2 separate regions of the Homo sapiens genome follow, and region 2 is linked to region 1. Evidence: promoter capture Hi-C in 16 types of primary human blood cells and fetal thymus (Javierre and others, 2016). All regions are on one chromosome and are shown on one strand. Each heading gives the region's core, a stretch centred on a gene start or on the middle of the fragment in contact. The rest is flanking DNA. Distances are from core to core; before and after follow the strand shown.

What was found. Contacts are between HindIII fragments. The CHiCAGO score rates a contact against its expected background, and 5 or more counts as called.
Region 2: a contact is called between a fragment that was not itself captured here and the fragment with the promoter of ITK in region 1, in 7 of 17 cell types (non-activated CD4 T cells, activated CD4 T cells, naive CD4 T cells and 4 more). The highest score is 20.5, in non-activated CD4 T cells.

The regions. Positions count from the first base shown.
Region 1 is chr5:157,177,122-157,183,999 of GRCh38, forward strand. It overlaps ITK (IL2 inducible T cell kinase), which reads left to right and starts at 3,719. Exons shown (of 17, transcript NM_005546.4): 1 at 3,719-3,994. The coding sequence starts at 3,857. The HindIII fragment of the contact is 39,229 bases long and covers 1-6,878 here.
Region 2 is chr5:157,220,224-157,227,991 of GRCh38, forward strand. It overlaps ITK (IL2 inducible T cell kinase), which reads left to right. Exons shown (of 17, transcript NM_005546.4): 6 at 2,640-2,791. Among named protein-coding and RNA genes, the nearest start is that of CYFIP2, 42 kb to the right of the region's middle. RefSeq lists an enhancer at 2,455-2,514. The HindIII fragment of the contact is 2,123 bases long and covers 5,152-7,274 here.

The DNA of each region.
Region 1 (6,878 bases), core at 2,469-4,968:
TTTTCTTTGCTTAACTTTTTATTATGGAAATTTTCAAACGTGCATCGGTGCAAGGAGAGTAGAATAATGATGTACCCATTAGCCAGCTTTAGCAATTATCAAGTCATGGTCAAACAGTTTTCATCCCTTCCCCTACCAATTTCTCCCCCTCCACTGGATTATGATGAAGCAAATCATAAACATTTTATTGTTTTATCAATAATTCAGTGTATGTTTCTATACAAAATAAGGACTATTTTAACATGATAATAGTGCCATTATTACATCTTTTTTTTTTTTTTTTTTGAGATGGTGTCTTGCTCTGTTGCTCAGGCTGGAGTGCAGTGGTACCATCTCAGCTCACTGCAACCTCCGCCCTCCAGGTTCAAGCGATTCTCCTGCCTCAGTCTCCCAAGTAGCTGGAATTACAGGCACACAGCACGACACTCCACTGACTTTTGTATTTTTAGTAGAGACAGGATTTCACCATGTTGGCCAGGCTGGTCTCGAACTCCTGACCTCACGTGATCCGCCCACCTTAGCCTCCCAAAGTGCTGGGATTATAGGTGTGAGCCACCACACCCAGCCCATTATTACATCTTAAAAAATAACAAGTTTCTCAGTATTATCAAACATCTCTTTAACATTCAAATTTGTCTAATTGTCTCATAACGTCTTTATACAGTTGATTTGCTTAACTCTTAATCCAAAGTCCAAACATGCTCATATGTCTCTTAAAGTCTCTTTTAATCTAAGGGTTCCCCCTTTGATTTATTTGTTGTTTTGTTTTGCTTTTGTTTTTTGAGACAGAGTCTGGCTCTGTTACCCAGGCTGGAGTACAGTGCTGCAATCCCAGCTCACTGCAACCTCCACCCACTGGGCTCAAGTGATCCTCCCACTTCAGCCTCCCGAGTAGGCGGGACTACAGGTGTGTGCCACCATGCCTGGCTAATTTTTTGTAGAAAAAGGGTTTCACCATGTTGTTCAGGCTGGTCTTAAGCTCCTGGGCTCAAGCAATCCACCCCCTTGACCTCCCAAAGTGCTGGGCTTACAGGCATGAGCCACCGTGCCCTGCCCTCTATGACTTATTTGTTACTGATACTGAGTCATTTGTCCTTAGCATGTTTTGTATTCTGGACTCATCCAATTGCATCTCCACAGTGTCATTTGTCAGGTTCGTTTATCTCTTGTATTTCCTGTAAACTCGAATTTATATCTCGAAGTTTGATTAGATTTGTGTTTGATTTTGTTTTCTCTTGGCAAGACTCCCGAGTTGCCAGTTTTGTGTACTTCCTCTTGCTTCACCTCAGGAGACATACAATGTCTGGTTGTCCTTCTTTTAAGATTAATCAGTGTGTTACAGTGTTGTCAGCTTCATATGACAGTTATACATTTTCCTATTGGCTTTTTGCGTAATAATTTTAACAGCCATTGATGATCATTGCCTACATTTATTATTTCATTGGCATTGCAAAACGATAGTATTCTGTCACTCCTTCATTGATTAGTTTCTTGGAAAAAAAGAACTTCCTCATTAAATACTTGATCACTGAATTGAAAGATAATTCTTCAAGAAAAGCAAGCAATATGTTTTATTTTTTTCCTTTGTTTCCAGTTTTCAGAAAAACAAGTTGGTTCTTCAGCATCCTCCAAAAGTGATCAAAAGGTTGGGATGCTTTTTTCAATTCTCTTTTGAACTCATTGTTTTAACATTTTTGCTGTTCTTCAATTCATGGCAATTATTATTCCTTTTGATACTCAAATTGTTCCATCTTTGGCAAGTGGGAACTCCTTGAATTTGGCTCCTATGAAGTGAACTTTTTAAAACCAAAACAAACAAAGGGACTATTTGTTTTTGTTTATGTTTTCCTTAAAGTGAGAAAAAAATATTGAGCCTCCTAAGTTTGCATTTAAAAGTTGGCAAAGATGAGTCTCAGTTAGTGGGTTTGATGGCTCTATGAGAAAGAGAATAAAATTACTTACGATGACACTCCATGTAGACTGAGCAAACGAAAGACTCCTAAGTATTGCAACAGCTACTGATGATATTTTGTTTTCCCGGATGAGAACACTTTGTGAAGTCTATAACTCTTTTCATCTGAACCAAGCAGGTGTAAAATGTACTTTCCTCAGAGGAGTTTGTAGTCTAGTTTGAGAAGATAGCACTGTATTATCTAGGTTTGCTGGTAGTGACAGAAACCTCAAAATAACTGAGACTTAGAAAATAGATATTAAAAAATGTAATCCAGGGCTGGCATGGAAGATCCATGGTCACCAGGGTCCCAGGCTCTTTCTATCTTATACTCCATTGTCCTCAACATTCAATTTCCACCTCATGATACTAGATAGCTGCTTCAGCTCCAACTGTTACCTCAATATTCTAGTCACAAGGCAGGAGGAAAAGGGAAAGAAAAGGGGATGACAGATCCCACTAAGGAAATTTCCTAGAAGTTGTGCACACGACTTCTGCTACATTCAGTTGACCAGAAGACAGTCATACAACTACACCTAGCTACAAGGGAGGCTAAAATTTGTAGTCTTTATTCTTGCTGGCCAGATGCCCAGATAACTGTCAGGGATTCTGTTACTCTAGTAAGAAGGAGAGAGTAGCTATTTGGGAATAGTAGCAATCCCTACCTCAAGCCCATACTCAGAAAAAAAAAATACTATCTTGTTTGGGCAGTGTATTTCCACACATATGTCTTAAGAATCTCAGAATGGGGGAGGTAATTTAAAATATACCAGTACCGTACCCTCCTGGGTGTCTTGATTATGCTGGGGCATCCAGTATATGAAATAAAATTAGGCTGTTGTCTGGTAATTTACATTTAAAAATAAACATTGGAGAATTTCACTCCTATACAGCAATAATTATTATTTCATTTATTATTTATCCCTACCCACTACATGCAATATCTGCTTACACTAAAATCTCTTGATTATTAACATAGTAGAGGTAACTGTCACACATTATACTTCAACTATGTACTAACTCTAAGGTGACATGTATGACTAGCACCTACCATTCATAAGATGTATGGGATTCAGTCCTCCAAAGGACCCTCACAAGGAAGCTAAGGATCAGAGAAGTCATGGCTTGCTCAAAGAGAAACAGCATAGTAAGTGACAGAGCTGGGAATCCAACACAAGTTTGTCTGTTTTCAAAGCCCACATATACTTTGTTTATTATGCCATTCTGAAGGATTCACTTATTTTTCACTCTTCCACAAAACGTCAGGACAGAAAGGCAGTCATCTATATGTAGCATTGAGAAATTTCTATGGGCTTTAATTTAAATCTTAAAAACTAATAAACTTCAGCAACATATTTCTTCACTTTAATGTGTGAGGGTTTTGTGCTCATTACCTCTTTTAATTGTCCAACCCAATTTGGTGATGATCCATTCAACAAATTTTTCTTGAACATCTGTTTTATGTGTCAGGTACTGTGATGGTTGCTGAGTATATCATGGTAAGCAAAACCACACATTGTCCTTACTCCTTGTGCTACATGATTTAACTGCTGGATGGATTAAACCAGGAACTATAAAGATTAAACTGTAATCCTTACCACAATTTTGAGTTTACAGTTTTTCAAATATCATTTCAAGCCATTAGCAAAGGCTGTATGTATTTTTTACATATGCCTCCTCGTTTTGTGAATTTTGAAAGGATGTGGTTTCGGCCTTTGACATCAGAGGAGAAGCTCAGCTATGTTGGCTGAACGTTGATAGAAAGATAACGTTGAAGGCAAGTTGCCCTTGAGCAGCTCTCTGAAGATCAACTGCCTCCACATTGCATTCTTTGCCCCAAAACTCTTTCCTTTGGTTGTGCTAAGAGGTGATGCCCAAGGTGCACCACCTTTCAAGAACTGGATCATGAACAACTTTATCCTCCTGGAAGAACAGCTCATCAAGAAATCCCAACAAAAGAGAAGAACTTCTCCCTCGAACTTTAAAGTCCGCTTCTTTGTGTTAACCAAAGCCAGCCTGGCATACTTTGAAGATCGTCATGGGGTATGTGAGCAGTTTCATTTGTCTTTTTTCGCATAGCATTTTATGTTTGGACTGGGCTAATGCAAAAATATATACATAGCATAAAATAGAGCACAGGAAACACAAACATGCTTATTGTAACAACATAAAAAGTACAGTAAAAGTAATCAGAGGAGAATGCAGAGAGCAGTCAAGAGGTGAAATGGTGGTGCTAGGTGATTTCAGTTCTAAAAACTGTAAATTTAACATTCATCAGCTTTTTCCCCCTGCAAGGTTATGTTTGGTTTTTAAATTATGAATAACATTTTAGGTAGCAAGTATTATGATTCGATAAAACTTGAACTTTCTATGAAACATACTAAATTTAATGAAACATACTAAATTTAATGAAACATAGATTAATACAACACTAGCATTCAATGGGATGATCTACCCCAGCTTTCTTATTTTTTAGTGGAAGAAACTGGTGTTTAGAATGGTTAAGTTTTGGGTTCAGTGTTAACGTTTTCATGAATAACTCTGTTTGTCTCAATACTCGTCGCTAGCCTGATCTTGAAATAAGATTTCCCAGGCATTTAATTATCTAAAAGTTGTAAGGCACAATGGCAAACCTCTTCATCTCTTGATAGACTTCTTAGGACACCAGGGTTATTAAGAACAAAGTTTCTGCAGTGCAGACCAGCGGTTCTTACCCAGAAGGAGTATGGCTGCTTTGCTAGGTCAGTCTATCTCTTTATCTAAAAATAGTCTTGTGCTTCTTAACATCACTAATAACAAAAGCAACAGGAATAATCCTAATAATGTAGTTTGGTAGAAAAAGCATTGGACAAAGGGTCAGGAGACCAAACTCTACTTCTCAGTAGGTGATCCAGTCTGGGCAAATGTCTACCTCCTGTTTCAGGTTCTTTCTTCATAAAATGAAAAAACTGGAAATAACAACCTTCAAGATCCCTTTCTTCTTCAAAACTTCTTTGCTTTATGCAGTGGCTCTTGTTTAGCCCTATGCTGCAATTTTTCAAAGCATGTTTGATTTCTTACTGTATGGTTATATTATTTTTACATCATTAGTGGGGTAGGACAAGGATTATCACTTATATTTTACTGAAGGGAAAATAATATTAGGTGCCTGATGGTCACTTAGAAACAAAAGTGCTCCAGTTCTTTGTTGGAGTCTGACTTAGTAGGTGGTGGCATGAGTTTGGGATTCTTTGGTGTGCCAGGGTTTAAAGCACTTCATGAGATGGAGCTCCAGAGGAGGTCAGGCTGGGTATAGAGCCTATGGATGCCTCACTTTTTAAAGTTGCAGGTGTTGCATGTCTTTTGTGAATTAAAAAAATACAGAAAACAAAAAAGTTGCAGGCGAAATAGCTCTGCCTCTTTAGAAGTGAAAAGAATTGCTTGTCTTATTATCAGACTCTTACTGATAACAATTTACCAGTCAATCAGAAAACACATGGAATTACGTGCAAGTCCTCTTTGCTAGGTGGCCAGGAGCCCAGTTTGTGAACTTGGGGGATTTATCATGTAGAGCTAATAAATCGCATGGCATTACTCAATGCTTTTTTGTGAATGGAACATTTAAAGTTTTTGTTTCATATTGAAAGAACAGTCATGTACCTTTAAATATTTTTTTCAAAGTCCATTTTGCAGTTTTCACCAGTTCGTTTTTCTGATTCAACATAGTATCATCTCATTTAGTTAGTATTAATAATTCCTTAGCCCAACTGCTATTTGTGAACTGATTGTGAATTCAGCTCAATATTATTTGTAAGTAATCACAAAACCAGATGGCCTTAATTCAGAATATTATTGGTCATAATTTGCATGTAGACAAGGTTGTAAAATCACCCTACTTCTTTATCTGAGCATTATGGAAAATTTCAAGACAATTACTTCATTCTGGGGAGCCCTAGGCTACAGTTTCTAATTCTTCCATGTGAGATATAGAGAATACATGTCCAAACATCAAATTTCTTGTTTTCTAATGCCTTTTTTACTCTTATAAATAACATTTTAAAAGTATTTCTTTAATTATTTAATTATTATAGAAGTTTATTAATTAGAAATTTATCCAAGTTCCCTGAAAAAGGTAATATATGTGAATTATTATTGTTCATGTCTTAGGTATACTACATGGTTTCAGGCCACCAATTTGCACACAAGGCTGCATTAATATTACTCATAAGTAAATAACATTACACTTATGGGAAGAACATTTTCATTTTTAAATTAAAGGCTTCATTTTCAATCTGTAAAATGGGTGTGATAATAGTACCCATTTCATAGGAAGATGGCAAAGACTCAGAGGTATAATGTCTTTAGGCTGAACTTTTTGAAATTATTTGGCAGATCGAATATCAGATATTAGAAGTTTCAAACAATTCAACTTAATATATTAGGTACTTAGCATAGGCCCTGTCATCTGGTAAGCATCTAGTAAAAATTAACCATTATTTGTATCCCTTTCATGTCTCTACAGAAGCTAGCAGGCTGTCATAACAATTCATTTTCAAATTATGGGAGATATTCAAGGATTCTTCAAAGTCAAGCTAAGATCAGGGTCCTGGATTCCTTCTATTCTGTGGCTAAATATAAGTTTTGTGGGGTAGATATACATGCATTATGAGCTGTTTGGCCAGTTATTGCCCCTCTTAGGGTGTCGGGTGTCAGAGCTTCTTTTTCTCTTTTCTCATGTGTAAAATTATGATTCTTGCAGTTCTCATATTCTATGAATTTATAACACCATATGAAAAATAACCCTTCTACATACTCAAGAACATATTCTGTAATTCTAGAAATCAAGTATGTTTATTCTAACCTAAAAAATCATGCCTATTGTCATTATAATACTAATTGATTGAGGTTTTACTTTAACATGGTTTTAGTTCTGGTGTTCGATGCCTGT
Region 2 (7,768 bases), core at 4,963-7,462, 46 kb after region 1:
CTATTTTGGTTCAAGATGTAAAATATCCATGGTCAGAGTGAAGGACAATCCTAGGCCTCTTTTGCCTATGGATACAAACAAGGTCGTATATCACATTGAAGTACAAATTCCGATTCCTCTTGGCCCCCTGCATCCATGGGAACTCAAGTCTTCCTCTTACAGTCCCTCCCAGTCAACCCAGGGCTTGCTGAGGGGCCACTAGAATGTGTCTGCATGTGTCCTTTCTTGCTGGCTGCCTACTAAGGCACCCTATCCCTGCCACTGCTACCTGGGCTCTCTGTGAGGGCCCCTCAGCCCCGTGGAGCTCTTCCCACCTGGGGCCAGCAGAGGTCCTGGGGGGTCAGGTTGTGCTGAGGCCTGCAGCAGAGTGGTCAGGAGGCAGGATCCTCATTCCTTTCATGCCTCACCACATCATGGAGGCTCCCAAACAACCCTTCCTGAGCCCACAGACTCAGTTTCTCCAAATGCCATCCCTTGATTTTCTCACTCAAATCTAATGGTTCCCAACCTTATCAAACTCAATCCTGCCTTTTAATGACAGATATTTTGTAAGGTTCCTTTTGTTATCCTGAAAAGAAATTTATAACTAATATAACATATATATACACAATTTTTTAAAATTAAAGTACTTAATTAAAATTTTTTGTTGCTTTGAGACAGGGTGTCACTCTGTTGCCCAGGCTGGAATGCAGTGGTGCAATCATAGCTCACTGCACCATCTGTCTCTTGGGCTCAAGCCATCCTCCCTCCTCAGCCTCCGCAGTTGCTGGGACTACAGGCACTTGCCACCACACCTGGCTAACTTTTGTATTAAACATACTTTTTAAAAAGAATCAACAAATGTTCTAACTGTAATATTTAAAAAGGAAAGAAAAATAATATATATAACAAAATATGTGTTTCTATATAAATATTGGGACATGACTGCACTGGAAGACAGAATGAAATAGTCGAATTCTTGCACTGGCAGGTAGGATCCATTGGATTTGGCATCTCGAATGCAACTGATACAAAATGTGGTATTGGGACTCAACTACAGCATTACCACCAGTGATATAATTTTCCAAAATGATGAACAACTCTTAGTAAACTTCTGAACCAAAGCATAGTCTTCCCTCAAAGTACAAGGTAGTTGCATTCTTGGGAAATCCAGTACTTTGGATAGGGTACAGCTAGGATCTAGGCTCAGGATGTTCTTATATAATTACTGTATAAGCTGGTTTCTCACCACATGAATGTTTACCAGGATATTCGAAAGTTGTGGGGAATGTGGGACTCTACAGAGCATTTTGCATTAAAGGCCTATAGCATACCTCAAACTGTGATGTTCAAAATAACCCCCATATTCCAAGCTTGCATGATTATTAGAAAAAAAAATACATGTCCAGTGTGCCCCTACAGAAAGGTACTATCATAATTTGAGGGCCCTGCTCTGACCTTTCTCTTCACAGCTATTAACCAATGAGTTGACCTGCAGTGGGATGAATGCCATAGCTCTGTTTCTTCTTCAAACATCCTTGAACACTATTCCTCCCTCCATAAGCTCTTAGAGCAAAAGCCTCAGGCCATCCACTCTTGTCCATAGCACCCCATTTACACATCCTCACAAGCTCCACAAATATCTAGATTTCAAATTCCAATCTGCAGCCGGGCACAGTGGCTCATTCCTGTACTCCCAGCACTTTGGGAGGCCGAGGCAGGAGGGTCACTTGAGCCCAGGAGTTTGAGACCAGTCTGGGCAACATAGTGAGACCCTGTCTCTCTTAAAAAAAAAAATCCGATCTGGGCTCAGCTGAGATGACATACTACATCAAAATGACGAGACTCTTTTTTCAGCTCCAGTATTTTTATGCCACTAAATGCTTCAATGTACTCAGAGAACTTGTGACTTCCTAACACTAAACCACATTCTAGTGAGGAACTTAATATTTCCCTACATTTACTCTCACAAAGTCTGCTAACCCATAGCAGGCGTGCCCATCCTGAACTCTGGCGACTATGCGCTTTGTGGTCTTTTCTTCATGTCCTCAATATGGACATGAAGAAAGGGACTGAGGAACAGAGACATCAGCAATAGAGCCTACAGGAGAAGGAAGGGAGACAGGTGCTAGAGTAGAGAGAGTCTTAGGGCTAATTCAAGTGGTAGATTGGCCAGGTCCATTTCTCCATCTGGGCCTCAGTTTCCTCATCCTAAATGAAAAAGTGTATTAAGTGATCTGTTAGAGGAATTCCAGCTCCAATAACCTATGATTCCGTAGATCTAGATAAACCCACAAATCATATTAGTAAAGCACAAACTGAAAGATTTCATGTTGACTGCATCTCCTTTGCCAAGGGCATGATGCATCCAGCAGAGAGGCTGCTGCATATAACATAGTGCAGATAGAGAAACCAGCAGACTTTTGTGAAAATCACGTGGCTGCTTGGAATTCACTGTGGTCAGAATTTACCTCATAGAATGAGCAATGTGATGAATTCCAAGCACTGATGTCTTTGTGTCATGTTCAGCGCTGTAACTCTAACTCATAAAGAAAGTCTACCAGAGGAAGGCAGACTGTCTCCCCAGACACCCCGATGAAAGGAGGCATTTTACCTCCTTTTTTATGTCTTTGCTTGGTTTTGTTGTCTCTCTTCCCCAGCGACCACTTTGGGAACCTGAAGAAACTGTGGTCATTGCCTTATATGACTACCAAACCAATGATCCTCAGGAACTCGCACTGCGGCGCAACGAAGAGTACTGCCTGCTGGACAGTTCTGAGATTCACTGGTGGAGAGTCCAGGACAGGAATGGGTAAGTCATCTTTGTGGCTGCTGTCCCCGTGTTTGAGGTGTGGTGCGAACAAATAAAATACCAGGATGATTTGTCCTATCTCCCACAGTGTAACCACAGCACTGAGGTGGGAGAAGAGAGCAGAGGCAGAAGGAAGAGGGAGGAAGAGGAAGTAGTTGAGGCTCATTTTTCCTCTTCTCAGAAGTGGCTCTGAGGCAGTCACTTGCTATGCTTGTTCCCTGCACCCCATCTCAGGCACTCCAGACCCAAACTCATCTAAAAAACCCCCTGGATTTTTCCACTGACATCTACAATTTGGGAGCTTGGCAATTTGTTCTGCAAAGTGCTATTGTTCCTGAGTGTTAAGTGAGGCTGAAGGTACATCCCATTAGGAAGTGCTTATTTTTGGTGAAAAGAAAATGTGTGTATAGAGATGGTACAGATTGATAGTTATGTTAGGACGCATCAGAAAGAAGACACTAAAGATTTAGTTACAATCGCAGTCATTGAACTAGCCATCCACATGACTCAGGGAGAAAATAAGGTTGTACAAATACTACTTTCCCACTATGCAACTTTTGAATGAAAAAAATACCAAGCATGAGATTCACACTGCCTTTTAAGGTTTTTTTTTCCTCTTAATATATCCGATGTATTAACCCATGCTCTGGAATATTTTCCAGAATCTGAGTTCAATAGTTGCATCAATCCAGCCATAAATGTACTCTAAATTGCAAATTCCCTTGTTGAACACTTAGGTTATCTCCAATATTTTGCAAATATTAACAACACTGCAACGAACATCTTTGTATATTAATATTAGGGGTTTAAATGTTTTCAAGGTATGAGGTTATTATTAATTTTAAAGTATAAAAAAGAAAACTGTCCTTGCAACATATAGATCATTTATGTCAACATTTTACTTAACTAACAGTAGAGAGAAATATACATAAAAAATAAGCCACCCTCCATTTGCCCCCACATCAAGTCCAAAAGTAATCACTATTTGGCCGGGTGCACTGGCTCACGCCTGTAATCCCAGCAGTTTGGGAGGCCAAGGTGAGTGCATCACTTGAGGCCAGGAGTTTGAGACCAGCCTGGCCAACATGGTGAAACCCTGTCTCTACTAAAAATACAAAAATTAGCATGGTGTGGTGGCTCAAGCCTGTAATCCCAGCTACTCCACTGGCTGAAGCATGAAAATCACTTGAACCCAGGAGGGAGAGGTTGCAGTGAGCCAAGATGGTGCCACTTCACTCTAGCCTGAGCGACAGAGCAAGACTCTGTCTCAAAAAAAAAAAAAAAGTGATCACTATTAATACCTTCTTGTGTATCATAAATAAAAGTTATACCTGTGCAAATGCATCCTTTTTTCACTTGTACCAAGTGGATCCATTCTGTTCTGCATCTTGCTTTTAATTTTTAATGATATTAATACACATTGAAGATCTTTTCATACCAGCACATGCAAATCTACCTCATTTTTAAAATAGTTGCATGGGCCGGCCGCAGTGGCTCAGGCCTGTAATCCCAGCACTTTGATTGGGAGGCCAAGGTGGGCTGATCACCTGAGGTCAGGAGTTCAAGACCAACCTGGCCAACATGGTGAAACCCCATCTCTACTAAAAATACAAGAAATTAGCTGGGTGTGGTGGCAGGCGCCTGTGATTCCAGCTACTCGGGAGGCTGGGGCAGGAGAATCGCTTGAACCTGGGAGGTGGAGGTTGCAGTGGGCCAAGCTCACACCACTGCACTCCAGCCTGGGAGACAGAATGAGAATCCATCTCAAAAATAATCATAATAATAATAATTGCACAATCTTAGAATGTATGATTGTATTATTAGTATTTAAATAATCCTTTATGGTGAGACATTTAGTTGCCAGTTTATTTGTTTCCTCTGCTGTTTCAAACAAGGCTTTAATGAAGATCTTGTATTCATGTATCTTGGCCATCTTTGGAATACAAACATATATATATGATATATATTTATCACATTAGTTTTCCTTTTCTTTTTTTTGAGACAGGGTCTTGCTCTGTCACCCAGGTTGGAGCACAGTGGCACTCTCACAGTTCACTGCAGCCTTGACCTCTCAGGCTCAAGTGATCCTCCCATCTCAGACCCCTACAGAGCTGAGACTATAGGCACGCACCACCATGCCCAGATAATTTTTGAATTTTTTGTAGAAATGGGGTCTCATTATGTTGCCCGGGCTTGTCTCAAACTACTGTACTCGAGAAATTCTCCCGCTTTAGCCTCCCAAAGTAGTTGGGATTACAGGCATAAGCCACCATACCTGGCCTATATGTCACATTTCTAACTGTGCAACAGTTAAGTCAGAGTATGTGATATCTTAATTTTGCCACATAATTTCCTCACAAAGCTTGCCAAATTTACCTTCCTGCTAACAGAGTTATGGAAGTGCCAAGACTGGGTATCATTGAACTTTTAAAAAAAGTCAATCTGATGGGTTAAAAAAAAAAAAGAGGGGCACAAATATCTTTAAGGATAAGACTTTACCTTTTACATACACCAGAATTTACATTTTCAAGGTGCCTTCTCTTTAAGTAGGCTTATCAACCCCATTACAGGGGGAGGAAAGACAGAAGTGAGACAGGGTAAAACGTGATGAGATTCAGAACCATGGTTTGAGAGGCAGTGTGGTTTGCTAGCTAAGAACAGACCCCAACTCCCCTCGTCTGGAACCTCCCTTTCTAGTTGATTCATGAAGACAATTGAGCTAGTCACATCACCTTCTCTCTGTCCATTATAGACAGGCCCATATCCGAAATAGGTTCAAGACTGTCTACAGGGTCTACAAACACCGAAGGGACCTAGAAATTCATTAGTTCAATCAACTGACTTTACTTAGCACACCTAATGTACCAGGAAATTTGTTCTCCTAGGCCTTACTTCCCCAAATGAGAGTTAAACCCTTCATTTGGTGACCTGTGGAAAGGCTTAACTATGCACTTCAAAGGGCATCAAAGAGGACACCCCAGCAGCCAGTCAGCATTATGGGAATTTCCCCAGTTTGCTTTGTGATAGTGTGGTATAGTGGAAAGCACACAAGATGGGGAGACAGAGGACTTGGACTTTATCAGCTACTCTTGTCATATGAAGCTGAGGATTCACAGATGACCATGTCATATGTGTGACCATGTCATTCACAGATGACCAAGTCACTTTTCCTCTGTGAATCCATTTCGTGAACTGTAAAATGCAGCTGATAATGTCAGCTTTGTCTACGTCACAGTGTTGAGAAAATCAATGAGATAATGGAAGTGAAAGAGCTTTGGAAATTCTACATATCCACATACAACTATGAGAGTTACCATTTGTGTAGATGACCCAGCTTTGGGTGGCATATGCTATTCAAAAGCAAAATATTATTTGATGCATTAATATAATTGTAAAAGTATAGTATGGCAAAAGTAGACATAATTAAGGGAATTCCAAGAGTGATACAGAAGGAATGGCAAATTTCAGAATAAGCTGACTTTCTTCCGTTGGAATGGCTGCCTTGAGCACTGTATGAAGGATGATTCTGAGGGCAGATGTCCAATTCTCCAAAGAAAGTATGCCATGATTGATTAGCAATGTCTGCCAGAGGAGTAAAATATAAGATGATCATCCTGTATTTGGCACCTACAGTCTTGATTTCTTCACTCTTCACAACTCTGAACTGATTACACATTTCCCATAAACATAATCACTAGATTGAAAATTGGCCTTATTATAAGAAAATTAAAACATGTTATGGAATAAAGAGCAATAAACTATCAGGCATCTTTTTTTGTTTTGTTTTGTTTTTTTGTTTTTTTGAGACAGAGTCTTGCTCTGTCACCCAGGCCAGAGTGCAGTGGCACGATCTCAGCTCATGGCAACCTCCACACCACTGCCCCCACCCGCCACCACCCAGGTTAGGTGAGTCTCATGCCTCAATCTCCCAAGTAGCTGAGACTACAGGTGCATGCCACCACACCTGGCTAATTTTTATATATTTTCTAGAGACAGGGTTTCACCATGTTGCCCAGGTTTGTCTCAAACTCCTGAGCTCAAGTGATCCACCCACCTCAGCCTCCCAAAGTACTAGGATTACAGGTGTGAGCCACCACACCCAGCCTATCAGTCATCTTTTTACAGATTGACAGAGTATGGAGTATCTACTTAAACTAGATTTTAAGTATAATATAGTTTAAGCCCTTCATTTGACGGGTATAAAGTCAGAGGTCCAGAGAGTAGAAGGGATGCCGCTTTCACCCTGTGGTATTAAATGAGATAATGAATGTGAAAGTGCTTTGAAAACTACAAAGTTATACACAAATGTAAAGAAGTTTGATATTCTTATTTTGTTTATTATGTTTTTTGTTTATGCACAATTATTAATTCTTGCTCAAAAGTGACTCCTGATCCCCAAATCTAGCCTGGCTTTATCCTTTTTTTCTCGTGTTTATACCGTTCATATCTGAAGAAGCTCAATTAGGGAGGCCTTAAATTAAAAAGCTTACAATGCCAACTGGTAGTGTCTTTTAGAATCTGTGGTTGGAAAGTCATCTTTTATATTTTAATTATTTTGGTTTCCTGACTATAAAATGATAGTACTAAAGTGGAAAAAATGTTGATTATCACACAAAAATGTTTCCTTATAGAAAATAGACACTGAATATTAATCTTTTTTTCCAGTAGAGGAAATTTCACAATGAGGAGAACAGCAAACAGAGCTTTTTAAGTAAAATCGCCACTTCTTTTTTTATTATGTTTCATATTTCAGTAGTGAAATCAACCTGCCTTTAACAGACAAGTTGCTATTATTTTTTACCAATTCCTTTTTTTTTTTTTTTTTTTTTTTTTTGAGACAGAGTCTCGCTCTGTTGCCCAGGCTGGAGAGCAGTGGCACGATCTCGGCTCACTGCACCCTCCACCTCCTGGGTTCAAGCGATTCTTGTGCCTCAGCCTCCCGAGTAGCTGGGACTACAGGCATGTACCACCACACCC